Regions from separate parts of the Homo sapiens genome. Here region 2 is linked to region 1. The links are contacts of gene promoters, found by promoter capture Hi-C in blood cells and fetal thymus (Javierre and others, 2016). All regions are on one chromosome and are shown on one strand. The core of a region is centred on a gene start or on the middle of the fragment in contact, and the rest is flanking DNA. Distances in the headings are between cores, read along the strand shown.

What was found. Contacts are between HindIII fragments. The CHiCAGO score rates a contact against its expected background, and 5 or more counts as called.
Region 2: a contact is called between the fragment with the promoter of BEX2 here and the fragment with the promoter of BEX3 in region 1, in 1 of 17 cell types (fetal thymus). The highest score is 6.9, in fetal thymus.

The regions. Positions count from the first base shown.
Region 1 is chrX:103,375,131-103,378,241 of GRCh38, forward strand. It overlaps BEX3 (brain expressed X-linked 3), which reads left to right and starts at 1,408. Exons shown (of 3, transcript NM_206917.3): 1 at 1,408-1,483; 2 at 1,898-1,976; 3 at 2,380-3,034. The coding sequence starts at 2,392. The coding sequence ends at 2,697. The HindIII fragment of the contact is 24,241 bases long and covers 1-3,111 here.
Region 2 is chrX:103,309,531-103,312,641 of GRCh38, forward strand. It overlaps BEX2 (brain expressed X-linked 2), which reads right to left and starts at 1,460. Exons shown (of 3, transcript NM_032621.4): 1 at 1,330-1,460; 2 at 828-903; 3 at 1-451. The coding sequence starts at 446. The coding sequence ends at 60. RefSeq lists a silencer at 1,196-1,285. The HindIII fragment of the contact is 10,238 bases long and covers 1,097-3,111 here.

The DNA.
Region 1 (3,111 bases), core at 158-2,657:
AAAGAAAGAGTCCCGCCTTTTTATATATTTTTTTCTTTTCTTTTTTTTTTTTTTGGAGACGGAGTCTCGCTCTGCCGCCTAGACTGAAGTGCAGTGGTGCGACGCGGCTCACTGCAACCTCTGCCTCCCGGGTTCAACGATTCTCCTGCCTCAGCCTCCCGAGTAGCTGGGACTACAGGCACGTGCCACCACGCCTGGCTAATTTTTTTGTATTTTTAGTAGAGACGGAGTTTCACCGTATTAGCCAGGATGGTCTCGATCTCCTGACCTCGTGATCCGCCCGCCTCGGCCTCCCAAAGTGCTGGGATTACAGGCGTGAGCCACCATGCCCGGCCAAAAATAAAATTTTAAACGAGCTAGTATGTATCAAAAGTAATGGCTTGATGTTGTGTGGAGCCCAGAAAAAATATTTTGTGTGGTACAGGTCAACATAAACAATGAGAGATTTCATTGTGCAGGATAAAGCATTTCCTTTTTTTTTTTTTTTTTTTTTTTTTTTTTTGACAGGGTCTTGCTCTGTCGCCCAGGCTGGAGTGCAGTGGTGCGATCCCGGCTCACTGCAACCTCCGCCTCCCAGGTTCAAGCGATTCTCCTGCCTCAGCCCCCCGAGTAGCTGGGATTACAGGCGCACGCCACCACGCCCAGCTAATTTTTGTATTTTTAGTAGAGATGGGGTCTCACCATGTTGGCCAGGCTGGTCTCACACTACTGGCCTCAAGTGATCCACCCGCCTCGGCCTCCCAAAGTGCTGGGATTACAGGTACGCCACCGCGCCCAACCAGCATTTCTTTCAAAATTAAAAACTTATAATTTATAATTTTCTGAAGCATGCAGATTTTTTAAGGAAATAAAAAGAAATATATACAGTCCACTCCACTTCCTTGCCCCGCTTTCTGACAAATGCCCTCCTGCCTCCCCACCTTAGCCCTCACTCTAAATTTTCTAGAAGGGTAGGAATTCAGGGGCTACGTGGGCATTGATGGCTGTGCACACGCAAGGGGTAGAAGTGGGAGTGCAGCGCAAAGCATGTTGCCAGGTAGAAAAGGAGAGAAAGCAGAAAAGGCCAAAGCCAAGGCCTGAAGTGAGAGGGGGCAGTGGTGGAGGATGATGCAGACCCTCCCTGGTAACCAGAGGAGGGCAAACTCCAACCGCAGAGCAGTGATGCCACTTGTGGGCCCTCAGATTGGAGAGGACCGAGAAGAGTGACAGGGCTGTGCGCTCTGGGGCACCTCATGCAGACGGGAGTAGGGAGGCTGTTTTTTGCGCGTGCATATGGCGGTGGCGGGTGGGGGGAAGGGGGAGATCCTGCTGCACTGGCCGCCCAAGTTGGGGGGCGAGCTCGGTGGTGACGCGCGGCCCTCACGTGACCCAGAGCTGCAGAGCGACGCAGCCTTCGGTGCAGTCGTCACTCGCGTCTGGCTACCAGCTCCCCGCTGCCCTGAGCTCGGCGGGCTGGCATTCGGCCCGGGGAAAAGCGGAGCAGGTAAGGGCTCCGGGGCCCGTGAGCCCCGGCCATGCCAGCAGCGGCTGACCGACCTCGGCGACAGGCGCAGAACAGCGCAGGGGGTCCCCGCCAGCTTTCTCCACACCCCAACATGCTTGGGAACACAGAGGCCCCCAGGGATGGGGAAGCAGGGGCGGCTGGGTTTCCAGGGGCGGCAGAGCCACCAAGAGCGATGGAAACCCACCCCCGAGTCCCTGCAGGAAAACAGCGAACACCGCGGGGGGCTGGGCGTTCGAGGGTGGGGTGGGGGTGGGGGGCGGGAGACGCGGGGCGCTGGCAGCGAGGGGAGCCCGGGCTCGGAGCACGGAAAGGGCCGGGCGGCGGCGGGTCTTCGCTAGCGTTCCGCTGCAGCAGCCCCCACCCCCCACAACCCCCACCCCGGCTCGACTGCAGGTCTGCGAGGCTAAGTGTCTCCGCGGCGCACCTCGCGGCGAGAATCCGGAGGAGAAGGAGACTGCAAGGATAGGCCCAGGTCGGTGCGAGGGACGGTGGTGGGGCGGGGGTCGGAACGTAAGGAAAGCCCAGTCTGAGACCCCAACCCCCTCCACCCCATCCCCCACTCCTATACCGGTCCTCCATTTTGGTGCCTGCAAAGCTCTGGGAAAGAATCCCGGGAAACGAAAAATGGTGGGTTTGGGGGAAGGGAGGTAAGGGGAGAAAGCTGGAGGGAGGGGCTTTAATTGGAGGCCCCGTAGAGGACGCGCGGAACTTCTAAGGTGGGAAAAAACGAAATTAAAAAATCCTTTGATATCAGGGCTCTGAATCCTGCTGGTCAGAGCACCAAGCATTCAGTCTCTCTCCTTGCCTTTGTCTTACTTGTGTTCAAAGAAAAACAACCAGAAAAAAAAAATCTCATCATGGCAAATATTCACCAGGAAAACGAAGAGATGGAGCAGCCTATGCAGAATGGAGAGGAAGACCGCCCTTTGGGAGGAGGTGAAGGCCACCAGCCTGCAGGAAATCGACGGGGACAGGCTCGCCGACTTGCCCCTAATTTTCGATGGGCCATACCCAATAGGCAGATCAATGATGGGATGGGTGGAGATGGAGATGATATGGAAATATTCATGGAGGAGATGAGAGAAATCAGAAGAAAACTTAGGGAGCTGCAGTTGAGGAATTGTCTGCGTATCCTTATGGGGGAGCTCTCTAATCACCATGACCATCATGATGAATTTTGCCTTATGCCTTGACTCCTGCCATTTATCATGAGATTAATACTGTGATTCCCGCTGTTTTCTTTTTCCTTGCATTTTCCTAATATGCCTTTACTGATCCGTTTGCTGTGAACCCTATGTTATTTCCATGTGTCAAGTGGGTCTTGTGTTGCCAGCTTCTATTTGAAGATTGCCTTTGCACTCAGTGTAAGTTTCTGTCAGCAGTAGTTTCACCCATTTGCATGGAAAAATTTAAAGCTAATAAAGCAATTTAAAAAGCAATCTATACATTTATTGTCTCATTAAAAATGTATACTTACATATAACAGATGAACTAAAAAAAAATCTGAGATTAAATACACTAGAGTGTTAATTGGTGAACATTTCTGTGTGTTAACTAATCCCAGCACTTTGGGAGGCTAAGGTAGGCAGATCACGAGGTCAGGAGAT
Region 2 (3,111 bases), core at 210-2,709, 66 kb before region 1:
AAATGTGTAAGTTTAGGAAGCAGGGGTCTCCCTATTAACTTCAGGGAAACCATCAGGATTCAGGGCATAAGGCAAAACTCATCGTGATGGTCATGGTGAGGGGGATCAGTGCTGACTGCCCGCAAACTATGACTCAACTGCTTTTCCCTCAGCTTTTCCATCAGCTGTCTCACCTCCTCCCCAATCCTTTCCATATTCTCCTCTCTCATCCTTGCCTGTGGCTCTCCAAGCCTATGCATTATGTCCCATCTATACTGCAGGATGGGCTGCCTAACGCGGAACCGCCTACGGTTTCCTCTAGGCACACAGTATTCACTAACATTCAAAGGTAGGGCCAAGGGCTCCCCTTTATTAGCAACTTGCTCCTTTTCATCTTTTTCATCATTTTCCTGGTTGACATTTTCCACGATGAGATTGTTTAACGCTCGTTCCTCTTTGGACTCCATTACTCCTAGGAGACAGAGAGAAAATGGACTCAATTCTTGGTGAACTGATCAGCACCGAGGACAGAGGCCCGACTACCCACCTTTCAAAATTCAGAGCCCTGGATTTCAAAGGCCTTTTTTAAATTTCATTTTTTTTCCACCAGAGAGGCCCCATGTACCCTCGGGGGGGCGAGGGGAGCCAGTCTGTGCCCTTCTCTCCCGCAAAGCCCACCATCTTCTCTGCAGATCCATCTCCAGGCCTCTGCAGGCACCAAAATGGAGGACGAAGAAGGGGTGGGGGTGGGGGATTGCTAAGTGTGGGGGTGAAGGCACGGATTGGGGTCTCAGACTGGGCTTTCCTCATGTTCTGACCCCCTCCCCACCACCGTCCCTCGCACTGACCTGGGCCTATCCTTGCAGTCTCCTCCTCCCGATTCTCGACGTGAGGTGCGTCGCCGCAACACTTGGCCCCGCAAACCTGCAGACGGCCGGGGTGGGAAGAGTGGGGGCTGCTGCAGCGGAACGCTAGAGAGGACCCGCCGCCACCCGGCCCCTTCCCCACGCCGGGCCCGGGCCCTCCTAGCCGCTCTCGCCCCCCGCCTCAGCCGCCCAGCCCCCCAAGCTGACCACCATTTTCTGCATCAAGAAGGGCGGAGCAGGGGTGTTGGAAAAGCTTGCGCTGGTGACGGAGGCAGGTGCTTCCGAAAGGTCGTAGCCTCAGGATCGCCGGCTCCCGCGGGGCCGGGCACCCCTCCGCTCACACAAGGCTCGCGGTCCCGCGGCGGGGCCCCGGGGCTGCATCGTGGACCGGCTGCGTCTCCGCGCTGCTGCCCGGGGATGGGGCATCCGCAGGCCGGGGCTGCTCCCCCACACCAACCCCAGGGACCCCCTCCGGGTCCCTTACCTGCTCCCCCTCCGCTTCCTACTTTCGGGGCCGTACCTGGCCCGCACGTCCTCAGGGACACCGGGAACAGGTACCACTGCCGAGAAGGGAGCGAGCGACGGCGGTTCTGACGCCACAACGAGGTAAGACTCAGTGTTGGCCGATCACGTGTGGCTGTTGTCATCGCCAGAGGCTCCGCCCCCGTCCCACGCCCCCTCCTGCAGCCCGGAGTCAGGTGGTGCTTTCGGGCCCGCCCCCATCCTCACCGGGAGTCCCTTTTAACATCCCCAGCCTGGGCTCTGCCACTCTTCCTTCTCTGTATATTCTTGAGACTTCCCCTGCTTGCCCAGGAAGGACGGAAGGTATCTTCTCAGGGAGCTGTTGGCCATTCCCACTTCTCTGGGGACTTGCCTCTCTCTGCCCTTGGCTCCCAGGATTCACCTCCTTCTGCCTGTCTACCTCCTTCTGTCCTCCTACCAATATTCTCCGTTTTCTCTCCACTAAAATGAGTGGAAGAGGTGTATCAGGAAAGGAGCACAAGAGAGTAGGCTTTTCTCATTCTTAATACCTTTTCTGTATTATTTCTTTTGTAAAACACAAAAAATTAATATACTTCTTTAAAAAGGAAAAAAAGTTATTTTTACTTGAAAGACGGGATTAAAGTTGGGCAAAATGTCCCAACCACCTGTCCTGTTAAGTCATTATATAAATATAGACTCTACACGCAGCTGCTTTTTTAGAACTTGGAAAAGGACAGGGCAGCTGATGGCTCCCCTTTTGAGGGGCCCCTGGACACATGAGGCCCTTCTATGAAATGAGCTAGTGAGTTGTAGTGCTACAGAACCTTGTTGGGTTTTCATAACTAAAAGGAAAAAAAAGGCCTTTTTCACAAATTTCTGGTTCAAACGATAAGTATGTCTTTATTTAAAGATCAAGTAATCATGTATTTAGGAAATCCAGAGACATCTACGGTAAACCTACTATAGGAGTAAGAATTGATTTTAAGAAGGTTGCAGCTACAAGATAAATATTACAAACGTACTCATAAATTTATTTGAAAATGCAAAGGACCTAGAATAGACAAATAATTTTTTTAAAATATCCTACAAATCTTGAGAGTTACATTATATTATTTCAAGACTTAAGGTGTAATAATAAAGTTAGTGTAGTAGTAAACATAGACCTGTAGATCAATAGAACAGAATAGACTCCAGAAATAGACCCATACGTATGTTGTTAATTAGTTTTTGACAAAGATATCAAAGTAATTCTATATGGAAAGTATAGTCTTTTAAACTAATGGTGCTGAAATAACAGAATTCTTAAAGGAAAAAAAGGAGCCTTGCCTTTTATTTATACTATACACAAATTAATTCAAAATGGATCCTAGGCCTAAATGTAAAAGCTCAAATTAGAAAACTTCTAGAATAAAACATACAGAAAAACTTTACAATCTTTGAGAAAACAATTCCTTAGGACACAAAAAGAACAGATCACAAAAGAAAAAAATAAGAAATTGGATTTATCCAAATTAAAAACTTCTACCATTTAAAACACATGGTTAAGAAAATGAAGTGAGAAGCTGGGAGTAAATATTCACAGTATTTGTATCTGACAATGGTTTTGAATTCAGAGCATATATAAAGAACTTCGAAAACATAAAATAAGAAGGCAAATAATGCAGTAAAAATGATCAAAAGATCTGAATAAACATTTCACAAAACTACACACACAAATTACCAATGAGCTCATGAAAAGATGTTCAACCTCATTAACTATCAGGGAAATGTAAAATAAAGCCAG